Regions from separate parts of the Homo sapiens genome. Here regions 1, 2 and 4 are each linked to region 3. Evidence: promoter capture Hi-C in human tissues and cell types (Jung and others, 2019). All regions are on one chromosome and are shown on one strand. The core of a region is centred on a gene start or on the middle of the fragment in contact, and the rest is flanking DNA. Distances in the headings are between cores, read along the strand shown. Region 1 overlaps SETD2 (SET domain containing 2, histone lysine methyltransferase). Region 2 holds the start of SMARCC1 (SWI/SNF related BAF chromatin remodeling complex subunit C1). Region 3 holds the start of PTPN23 (protein tyrosine phosphatase non-receptor type 23). Region 4 overlaps PTH1R (parathyroid hormone 1 receptor).

Region 1 (2,700 bases), core at 78-2,577, 270 kb before region 3:
TTTTTTGGAGACAGTCTCGCTCTGTCCCCCAGGCTGGAATGCAGTGCCATGATCTCGGCTCACTGCAACCTCCTCCTCGTGGGTTCAAGCAAATTCTTCTGCCTCAGCCTCCCGAGTAGCTGGGATTACAGCTGTGCGCCATCATGCCTGGCTAATTTTTGTTTTGTTTTTTGAGACAGAGTTTCACTCTTGTCACCCAGGATGGAGTACAATGGCGCAATCTCGGCTCACTGCAACCTTCGCTTCCCCGGTTCAAGAGATTCTCCTGCCTCAGCCCCTCAAGTAACTGGGATTATTGGTGCCTGCCACCACATCCAGCTAATTTTTGTATTTTTAGTAGTGACAGGGTTTCACCACATTGGCCAGGCTGGTCTTGAACTCCTGACCTCAGGTGATCTGCCCACCTCGGCCTCCCAAAGTGCTGGGATTACAGGCGTGAACCACCACGTCCAGCGTAATTTTGGGTTTTTTGTTTGTTTTCGAGATGGAGTCTTGCTCTGTCTCCCAGGCTAGAGGGCAGTGGCATGATCTCGGCTCACTGCAACCTCCACCTCCCAAGTTCAAGCGATTCTCCTACCTCAGCCTCCCAGGTAGCTGGGATTATAGGCGTGCGCCACCACACCCATCTAATTTTTGTATTTTTAGTAGAGACGGGGTTTCGCCATGTTGGCCAGGCTGGTCTCGAACTCCCGACTTCAGGTGATCCACTCACCTTGGCTTCCCAAAGTGCTGGGATTACAAGCATGAGTCACCATGCCCGGCCAAGAATACTTTAAATATGCTATATATAAGAAAATTAAACATTTCCAGGAAATACTGAATATGGTAGAAAATAAAGTGAACCTTTTGCTGTATTACATTAAAAACTTACATCAGTTACATGGAAAGCAACATTTATTCATTCAAGAAATGTTTAATGATTATCTATCAAGTATGTTTTAATTCTTAACCTTGATATGCTCAGGTATTCTCTTCTACTCTTTTTTTTTTTCTTTAAGAGACAAGAGATCACTGCCATCCAGGCTAGAATGCAGTGGCGTGATCACAGCTCACTGTAACCTTGAACTCCCAGGCTCAAGCAGTCCTCCCACTTAGCTTCCCATAGCGCTGAGATTACAAGCATGAGCCACTGCACCTGGCCTTCTCTTCTACTCTTATCCCAACTCAATTTTATGTATACTAATGGATTCTGTCCCAACTTCTTTTTATATAGCTTCATAGAGATTCTGGGGGTCCACAGTAAACACTTGGTAGTTGCTTGGAATTAAAGAAAACATAATTACCAAAAAAGAAAAAAAGATTTTTTAACAACAAACTAGCTACCAAGTGGTCATTCTACATAATAATCATCATTAAACCTCAGTGTAATAAAGAAATTGTTTCCCTACAAAAACATCTAAGTTCAACAACACAAAAATGAAGTGAAGCCCAGGCGCGACGGCTCACACCTGTAATCCCAGCACTTTGGGATGCCAAGGTGGGCGGAAAACTTGCGGTCAGAGTTCGAAACCAGCCTGGCCAACATGGTGAAACAACGTCTCTACCAAAAAAATACAAAAAAAATTAGCTGGGCATGGTGGCATGAGCCTGTAGTTCCAGCTACTTGAGAGGCTAAGGCAGGAGAATTGCTTGAATCCGGGAGGTAGAGGTTCCAGTGAGCCAAGATCGTGCCACTGCACTCCAGTCTGGGTGAAAGAGTGAGACCTTGTCTCAAAAAAGGAAGTGAAAGGTAATTAAAAAAGAACTTACGAAGGAAGGTCTTTGGCAGCTCTCAAGCCCCAGCCTTTCTTTTCTGTGAGTATGACTTCCACATCTGCATGCTGTTTTCTCTGAAACCGTCTATTGGAACAATAATCCCCATTTGGACACCGAGAAGAACTGAAATGAGAAAAGGAGGAAATTTAATTCTTTAAAGCAGCAAAAGAACCAAAGTAACTTTGAAAAAATGTGTTAGTATAACTACATATATACATACTTTTATGGTATAATTAGCATATGTATGACTAACCCCCAACTAAGTCTTCCTTTCCTTCCATCACAAAGGGATTCCTTAGAACTGAGTATCTACATTGTTACTTAAACAGATCATACCCACAATACAGCCTTGATATCTGGTCATCACAGAAATATCTACCACTCCCTAGGTGTCTAGAATACATTTTCAGGCTGCATGTAAGCTTTCAGTACATTGACAACTCTGCAGAACTTATATTCTGTAAGTGCACCTTCCCTTCCTTCTACTCTAATCACTTTTAATTTCATTTTTTGAATGCAGCTAACTACTTGATCTACAATTGAGAAAATCTAAAGTCATTATTAAATATATCCTTGTTCAGAGTAAACAGAATAACATGGCATGGCTCTTCTCCCATGGATCCTAGAGTAAAAATGATAAAATCGAACACTGATTGACTTCTTAATATGTGATAGATATAAAGGTTTTAACGATGATTAAAACTACACCAGAGGGGGCTGAGTACGGTGATTCATGCCTGTAATCCCAGCACTTTGGGAGGCCAAGGCAGGTGGATCACTTGAGGTCAGGAATTCAAGACCACCCTCGCCAACATAGTGAAATCCTGTCTCTCTGAAAAATACAAAAATTAGCCGGGCATGATGGTGCACGCCTGTAATCCCAGCTACTTGGGAGGCTGAGGCAGGAGAATTGTTTGAACCCAGGAGGCAGAGGTTGTAGTGAGT
Region 2 (2,700 bases), core at 29-2,528, 400 kb after region 3:
AGCCACTAAGGGTAAGGCAATAAGTATCAGCCACGTTCCCGGATACACTGCAGTGAACAAAGCCCTTGCTTCAGTGCTATGATTCTCAATAGGAGAAAGTACAGAACTAAAGAGGGTGATAGGAAAACTTCAGAGGCTGGGGAGCCTTTTCGGCTACCTGCTTCATTACACCCTTTAAGGGAGTCCTCCTGAATATTTACACAAAAGGGAAGTTGGAAAAAAAAAAAACATTTGTTATAAACAAAGGATTAAGTCAAAACTTTGAAAACTACTGACTCGGCGGAACTTCCGTTCCAAAGGTAGGAGAAATCAGTAAATGAATAATTTCAAAATGTGGTAAACACTACGAAGAAAATAAAGGTGACACAAGAAAAGTGCTCTAATAAAAACTGGGTTCTTGGGGAAGGCCTCCCTTTAGAACACTTTACGTACAAGCGACCATCAACTCTCACGCCACACAGAACCAGAAGCACGATGAGGTAGAACCGTCGTTAATAGTTCTCATCCATCCTAGAATTCATATTGCCTGTTATTAATTAACGAATACAATCATCCCAGTCGTTTAGCAATTCAACAACAGGTAGCAAACCCCCTCGAGACTTTGAATACGCTCTAAACAAAACTTGAAGCTGCTTTTACCACGCTTGCTCGGTCTTTAGGGATCATTGTTCACACACCTAAGGCAGCTGACAAAAGAGAGAGAGTCACACTCGCTTAGTGGCTGAGCTCGACCTGCTCTGGCACACGAGACTGAGCAGGGGCTTTCACCATGGGTGCGTAGGCTCAGAGGAGAGAGCCCCGAACCCCAGTCAGGCCCCGGGATCGCGGGCGCCCAGAGCGGGCGGCGGGGGCGTGGCGGGCCCGGCGCCTGCCTTTGTTGTCCCTCGTGGCGTGCGGGGGGGAGGGGCGGCCCGAGGCCCGCGAGGCCAGCTGCCGCCTCCGGCCCCGGTCGCGTGGTCTCCCGGCCCCCACGGGCGCGCGAACCCACCTTCTTGTAGTGCTTGCCCAGCCAGACCCGCACCGAATCCAGCTGGGACACCGTCTCCGGGCTCTCCCAAAACTTGGTGGCCGGGCCCCCATCCTTCCGTCGATAAACAGCTAGGCCTGCGGCTGCCGCCGCAATCCCCGAGCCCGTGGCGCCTACCGCTGTCCCCGGCCCGCCGCCGCCCGCCGCTGCGGCCATCGTCGCAGCCCGTCGTCCCCACAGCCTGGCCCACCCCGGCCCTCGCGGTGTTTCCCGGTCGTTCCCGCGCGCACCCCCGCGCGCGTAGCCGCCACTGCCGCTTCCCGGCCCCGCCCAGCCAACCCTCTTCCGGCGCGGACGCCCGGCCCCGCCCCATCTGGGAACTGGCACTGTATCTGACGCGAGCCAGCGCACGCGCATGCGTAGCACTCGTGCGGCCGTGCCTTGGAATAGCACGTCCTGCGGCCTCAGCCGCCTCTTCCGCCATCCTCCGTAGGCTGCATTCTGCCCTAGTGAGCGCCGGTTTTTGAGCCTTGCTCTTCCCTCGCTACCGACGTCGAATCATTATGCGGTCAACAACCGCAGGTGGGTTATGTGTCATAGCCCGCCTCCGCTGGAGGGAAAAGGCCTGGTGCGAGAAATGCCCAAGGGAAAGCCTGTCTAGGGTATCGAGTGCTGGCCGAGGGCCCTGCACCCGGACTGGGACTGCGCCGGGCCCCGCTTTCCCTCAGGCCCTCCACCCCCAGCGGCCCGGCGGCATTTGTGAACAGCCATCTGGGACTCCCACGCCTAGGCTTTTCGGCTTCACAGACCTTCCACTCCCTCAGGGGTCCAGCCACAGCGGCTCATTCCTGCCCCAGGGGCCCTTGCACTGGCTCTTTCGAGACCTCAGCAGGTCTTCCCTTCTGATTTGCACTTACGAGACGCGTTCAGATTCACTGCTTCAAAGGACTTCAGAAAGTAGTTGTCAGATCTTAACAATCTTGAACAACTGTTCACACCCATACACTTTCTGCATAGCGCTCACCACGACCCGGCGTTTCTAGTTTCTCATTTACCTTCCACATAAATTACATGAGAACCTAATCTTAACTTGTTCACAGGTGTATCCTGAACACCTGAGACAAGGAACAGATGTACAGTAAATACTTGATGAGTTAATGAATGGCCCACATAGAAGCCGAAAATTTTTAAATTATTAACAAGGTATATTGGCCGGGTGCGGAGCACTTTGGGAGGCTGAGGCGGGAGGATCAATTGAGCCCAGGAGCTCTAGACCACCACACCCATCCCCGTCTCTACAAAAAATACAAAAATCAGCCAGCGTTGTGTTGCAAGCCTGTGGTCCTAGCCTCTTGGAGGGCTGAGGTGGGAGGATCCCTTGAGCTGGGGAGATGGAGGCTGCAGTGAGCTATAATCGCGCCACTCACTACACTTCAGCTTGGGCGACAGAGCGAAACCCTGTTTCAGAAACATAAAAAGTATGACTGGCCATAATGGAGTTGTGAACATAATGCTATATGATCGCAGAGAAGCAAGTAACTAATTGCTTGTGAGAACGTGACTAACTGCTGGTAAGTTTCTGAGATCTTTTAAAAATGAGGGTGTGTACATGTTTTCAGGATCTCCTGAGGGCTGTGTCACGGACAGTAAAATATATTAAATAAAAAAGTTAATAGAATGTGATCAAGAGGGCCAGGCGAGATAGCTCACGCCTGTAATCCCAACACTTTGGG
Region 3 (2,700 bases), core at 146-2,645:
CTCCCAAAGTGATGGGATTACAAGCGTGAACCACCGCACCCGGCATCGTGGTCTCCACATTTCATCCAGAACGAGTCAAAGGCCTTGACCTCGAGCTTAACACGGACCTGAACCTTTGCTCTTCCCTTGTTTTCCCTTATCAGTAAACAGCCCCACAGCCACCCACCTGCACAAGCCAGAAGCTTGGAAATCATATTCGACGTCCTCATGCCCTTACATCCATCCATTCCAAGTTCTGATACTTTTGTCTCCAAAATATTCCTCAAATATTTCTCAAAGTGGGCAAAATATTTCTTTGCTCACTTTTTACTTCCCTCTGCTCCAAGCCACAATCACCTGTCTCCTGGAAGACTACAAAAGGCTCACTGATCTCCCAGCTCGCACTTTTGCACTCACTATCTCCAGGCCATTCTCTGTTATTTCTATTGTTACTATTATTATTTTGAGACGGAGTCTCGCTCTGTCGCTCAGGCTGGAGAGCAGTGGCAAGATCTAGGCTCACCGCAATCTCCGCCTCCCAGGTCAAGCGATTGAACCTCCAGCCTCAGCCTCCCGAGTAGCCTATTATTTATTTCTAAAAGTAGGTGATACAGCCATATGATTTAACAATTCCTGCTCTATAGGTCCCCTCTCCAGAGGCAACAGGTGCTCTCCATTCCGTGGTCTCCTTCCAGATACTGTGGGCGTCCCTGGGTGCTCACCTGGCCGTATACCTTCCCCCACCCACTTCCCCACAGGGCCCGGGGCCTCCTCACTCCGCTTGAGACCCTCCATCCAGGCGCTCCCTCCCTATCGTCCGTCTCCCTTGGGCACTGCCCGGCCTCCCAGGCTGGGCTGAGTAGGCCAGTCTCCGGTCAGTGATTCTGTTCCAAAGCTCGAAAGCCTTCGCAGCACTGGGACTGAAACCCCCAGCTCTCAGCCCCGACTCCTTCAGGCCAGGTGCTCCCTCCGCACCCTCTCTAAGGCCCGTTTTCGCGTCATCTCTTTCCAGCGGCCCGCCCGCCACGTCATCTCTACCACAGCACCAGTCCTCCACGGCTCTTGACAATACGTGGGAGGGCAAGTTCATAGGTGAGGTCTCATGCTCTTCCTAGGAGGGAGGAGCGCGGCGGGCGGGACCCGCAGCTGGGCTTGGCCCGGGAGCGGGGAATAAGCTCGCTCCGCGCCTCTCAGTTTAGTGGATGAAGACTACTATCCCAGAAGCCGTTTCGCCTCGGGCTGGCGAGCTCCTCCCCGCCCTACTCCCTCCGCGCGAAGAAGACTGAGCATGCGCAACAGGGACAGCGCCTGCGCAAAAGACTACGCGAGCGGGTGGCTGGGTTCACTGCAACTCCCGGCAGGCCGCTGGCATTTTTCATTCCCTCCCGTGACCAGTGACTTCCGGCACGAAGGGGCGGGGCTGGGCTCGTGGCTGAGCCAGCAGCTGCAGCAGCTACGGGAGTGGCCGGGTGGCCGGCGGGTGCCAGCCGCCATGGAGGCCGTGCCCCGCATGCCCATGATCTGGCTGGACCTGAAGGAGGCCGGTGACTTTCACTTCCAGCCAGCTGTGAAGAAGGTGAGCTTGCCTTCCATCTTCCCCCCTATCCGCCGCGTATCTCCGTCGTCTGCAAGCGCGTGACGCCCCCCTGCGCGCCCATCACCTCCTCAGGCCCGGTCGCAGGGTCCGGTGAGGCCAGGAGGGGCCTTCGCCGGTTTTCCTCAGCCTGTCCCACACCCCGGCGCCCGCAGGCCATTCTTCTCCTCCCCGATAGCCCCGTGCTAGCACCTGCATCTTCATCTGAACCCGGTTCCCGACTTCTGCCCCGAGTCATCCGCTGTTCCCACTGAGGCAGCACACTTCCTCCTTCTGACGCTCGGACCCAGTTCTGCCCCGCCCCTCCTCCATGCCAGGACCGCCCCGCGCGGGAGCGGTGGGCGGCCCTGACCGTGCGGATTCTTTTGCTGCGCCCGGCCCTCGGTGCGCTGTCAAGTCCACGCCCGCCTGGGACAGACACTGGGGATGGCTCAGGGGCGTGTGTTTAAGACGTGAGCCCCGGTGGCCCAGGGAGATGCCCGACCCCTGCGGTGAGGGTTTGTTTTACAATTGCTGCGATTCTGTATGGTCTCCCATTCGGGAGTCTCTTTGGACCAAACAATACAATCCCACGACATTTTTAGGAGGGTTACTGCTTTTCGTAACCGACTGGAGGGCATAAACAGTGTTGTAGAGCTCAGAGAAATCTTACTGTGTTGGAAGAACAGACGGGCAGGTTTGGCGTTGACTAAGGCAAGGAACTTCTGTGGAGAGGTTCAGGTGTGGTGATTGAACACAGGTGCCCTCCGAGACATCCGCTGTATTGGTAGCACTGAGGGCTAGAGCAGAAATGAAAAGGAACAACCAGGAGGCCGTCGCAGGTGGGGGGCCTTGTGGGCTTAGCACAGCAGATGCCAGAGTAAGCCCCAATCTAGATGGTGCACCACTTAGCGAGACGCTTGGGAAGACAAATAGGAAAAAGAAAATGGGTTTGGAAGTAGTTTCCCAAGAAGCTGTCTCCCCTCTAATCGCCATACACCATTGCCTTAGTTCAGACAGTGTTTGAGTCCATCATCTAGCCTCTTGGGGCCAGGAAATGAGGGTAATTGATCCAAAATTCTAGAATTTTGTTAACGGTTATCCAGACGTTGCTCTCTTCTTCATCTGCTGTTTCTTTTTCCTACCTT
Region 4 (2,700 bases), core at 30-2,529, 490 kb before region 3:
CACCAAAGACAGCCCCATACAAGGCCTTGTGGATGGGGAAACTGAGGTTCAGAGGAGCTCAACACCCTCTGCAGAGACACTCCAAGTACTGACGAATGCCAGGGGATAGAACTACCACCAACCCCACCCCCGGAGTTTGGTGTGTGACGGCCTGAGGGGTAGACAGGGTGATGGGTGTGGGTGTCCTGAGAGTAAGTCTATGTGTCAGAGCAGGGTTCTGTGGGACTCTGGGCATGGTGTTCATCTGGGTCTGTGTGATTGTGAGTGTCTGAGTCCCTGTGTGAGTTCACGTGTCTGAAGTTGTGGTGCATGACTTGGAGGCGCAGTTGTGTGTGTTTGTGTGTGCCTTTGTGAGCGCCTGTGCACCCGGGCCTGTTGTTTTCTTATGTGTATTTCATAAATGCTTCTGTAGGGCTTTCTACTTGCCATTGTTCTAAGCAATTCACGTACATTAGCTAGTCTAATCCTCCCAACCACCCTCAGAGGAAGGTTATTGTCCCCATTTTTAACTGGCCCGAATCACACAACCACAATGACCATTATTTATCTCATGCCAAGCCCTGTGCCTCTATGTGTGTGTGGAGTATGGGTACCCAGAGCCCCACTGCTCTCCAGGGAAGCTGAGATATATGCAGAGAATCTTCCTGGCTTTGCCCTGGCCCATGTCTGAGAGTAGAAGGACAGATGCCAGTGTTCAGTCTGCCCAGGACCTTGTTGGGGCATGTGAGTTCACTGGACACTCCCTGGCTTCGGGGCCAGAAGATTGGGACTGAAGGGCGGGGGCAGCCTACTCACCCATCCAATATCCTATGGGCCCCCTGGACTCATCTGGGGCCAGCAAGAAGCTGGCAGCCTGCCAGCTCCCTCTCCTGAGCCCAGAGGGCTACTGCCCCCCTTTAGATCTGCACCTATGCCCCTCAAGCCCACCAACCTTATCTCATGGCCGGTCACCAAACCTGTATGCTACCTGCCCAGCTGGTCCCAAGACCAGGCTCACATCTCCAGTGACCTCACATTTGGGGGGCCAAAGAGCATTCCATCTGGAGGACACTGGTTGTGGCCAGACTCAGCTGGTCCATCTTCTGCTGTACAGGAAACAGTTACCTGGGAGCCTGGAGTCTGGGGCGGGGTGGAGTTTGGAGGAAGTGATAGACCCACAGATTGTGAGTAGGAGGCAAAGGGGCACTCTTGTCCTTGAGGATGCGTCCTCCTAAGGACCCCCCCAGCATGTACACATGTGGAGGAGAAACTGCAACAAGAGAAGCTGGAGCTCAGCATGGGGCAGGCCTTGAGTGTGAAGATGTGACCACTGGGTAGGACTCACAAGAGACTGTGGTGTGGACTCACAGGCTGGGAGTGTGTGGGACCTTTTCCAGCCTGCTCCAGGGGCAGCTTGGCCATGTTGCTTGCTTGCTTTTTTTCTTGAGACAGAGTCTCACTCTGTCGCCCAGGCTGGAGTGCAGTAGTGCGATCTCGGCTCACTGCAAGCTCTGCCTCCCGGGTTCACGCCGTTCTCCTGCCTCAGCCTCCTCAGTAGCTGGGATTACAGGCGCCCGCCACCATGCCCAGCTAATTTTTTGTATTTTTAGTAGAGATGGAGTTTCACCGTGTTAGCCAGGATGGTCTCGATCTCCTGACCTCGTGATCCGCCCGCCTCGGCCTCCCAAAGTGCTGGGATTACAGGCGTGAGCCACCACGCCCGGCCGGTTGCTTGCTTTTAAAGACAGGAAGAAGCCAACATGTACAGAACAGTGGCTGTCCCCAGATTCTGAGCTAGAAACTGTCACAGATTGTTTTCTTATTTCATCCATTCACCCAGTGATTTCTACGCTAAAGGGCCCTGAGAGTCACACAGTGAGTCTGTGGCACAGCAGGATTTGAACCCAGATCTTTAGACCTTTGCACTGAATTCCTTCCTCAAAAGCAGCACGAGATTTGCTGCTGGCAGGAGATCCTCATGTCTCACTCTGGGTTTTCTCTTTCTTTTTTCTTTTTTAAAAATTAAATCATGGCCGAGTGCAGTGGCTCACACCTGTAATCCTAACACTTTGGGAGGCCGGGCAGATCACCTGAGGCCAGGAGTTCGAGACCAGCCTGGCCAACATGGTGAAACCCCCATCTCTACTAAGAATACAAAAATTAGCCACGCGTGGTGGTACGTGCCTGTAATCCCAGCTTATTGGAAGGCTGAGGCAGGAGAATCGCTTGAACCCAGGAGGCAGAGGTTGCAGTGAACCGAGATCACGCTGCTGCACTCCACCCTGGGCGACAGAGGCTCTGTAAAAAAGAAAAAAAAAATTAAATCCTTCTGTTATTTTGTTAATTTTTAACTTCACAACTGATATATGAATATGTTCTTATAAAAGAGTCAAACAAGTCTGTAATCCCAGATACTTGAGAGGCTGAGGAGGGAGAATTGCTTGAGCCCAGAAGTTCAAGGCTGCAATGAGCTACGATCATGCCACTTCACTCCAGCCTGGGTGACAGAGTGAGCCCCTGTCTCTGAAAAAAAAAAAAAAAAAAAAAGAGAGAGAGTCAATCAATAAAAATTAAACAGAAGCCCTCCTTGATCACTCCCAAGCCCCAGTTCCCTTCTAGGGAAAACCATTTTTAGCAGTTTGGGTAGAGGGGCGTTCTCCTTCCTCTTTCTGTGTGTTTCCAAATGGTACCTCTTTGTGTACATATCAAGTAGATAATTTT

What was found. The method cuts DNA at HindIII sites, captures the fragments that hold promoters and counts their contacts. A contact is called where the count stands out against the background at its distance.
Region 1: a contact is called between a fragment that was not itself captured here and the fragment with the promoter of PTPN23 in region 3, in 2 of the 25 tissues and cell types used here (IMR-90 fibroblasts and lymphoblastoid cells).
Region 2: a contact is called between the fragment with the promoter of SMARCC1 here and the fragment with the promoter of PTPN23 in region 3, in 1 of the 25 tissues and cell types used here (mesenchymal stem cells).
Region 4: a fragment that was not itself captured here is called in contact with the fragment with the promoter of PTPN23 in region 3 in 2 of the 25 tissues and cell types used here (lymphoblastoid cells and spleen).

The regions. Positions count from the first base shown.
Region 1 is chr3:47,112,127-47,114,826 of GRCh38, forward strand. It overlaps SETD2 (SET domain containing 2, histone lysine methyltransferase), which reads right to left. Exons shown (of 21, transcript NM_014159.7): 5 at 1,750-1,878. Among named protein-coding and RNA genes, the nearest start is that of SETD2, 51 kb to the right of the region's middle. RefSeq lists enhancers at 1,584-2,091, 2,092-2,600. The HindIII fragment of the contact is 3,414 bases long and covers 1-2,700 here.
Region 2 is chr3:47,780,615-47,783,314 of GRCh38, forward strand. It overlaps SMARCC1 (SWI/SNF related BAF chromatin remodeling complex subunit C1), which reads right to left and starts at 1,279. Exons shown (of 28, transcript NM_003074.4): 1 at 989-1,279. The coding sequence starts at 1,183. RefSeq lists silencers at 753-992, 1,173-1,392, 1,803-1,852, 1,963-2,022 and an enhancer at 1,225-1,519. The HindIII fragment of the contact is 21,057 bases long and covers 1-2,700 here.
Region 3 is chr3:47,379,626-47,382,325 of GRCh38, forward strand. PTPN23 (protein tyrosine phosphatase non-receptor type 23) reads left to right here and starts at 1,396. Exons shown (of 25, transcript NM_015466.4): 1 at 1,396-1,555. The coding sequence starts at 1,472. It overlaps PTPN23-DT (PTPN23 divergent transcript), which reads right to left and starts at 1,867. Exons shown (of 1, transcript NR_185912.1): 1 at 1-1,867. RefSeq lists enhancers at 782-1,459, 969-1,028, 1,199-1,418, 1,460-2,135. The HindIII fragment of the contact is 13,956 bases long and covers 1-2,700 here.
Region 4 is chr3:46,884,952-46,887,651 of GRCh38, forward strand. The region is part of intron 3 of PTH1R (parathyroid hormone 1 receptor); the gene reads left to right. Among named protein-coding and RNA genes, the nearest start is that of PTH1R, 8.6 kb to the left of the region's middle. The HindIII fragment of the contact is 5,915 bases long and covers 1-2,700 here.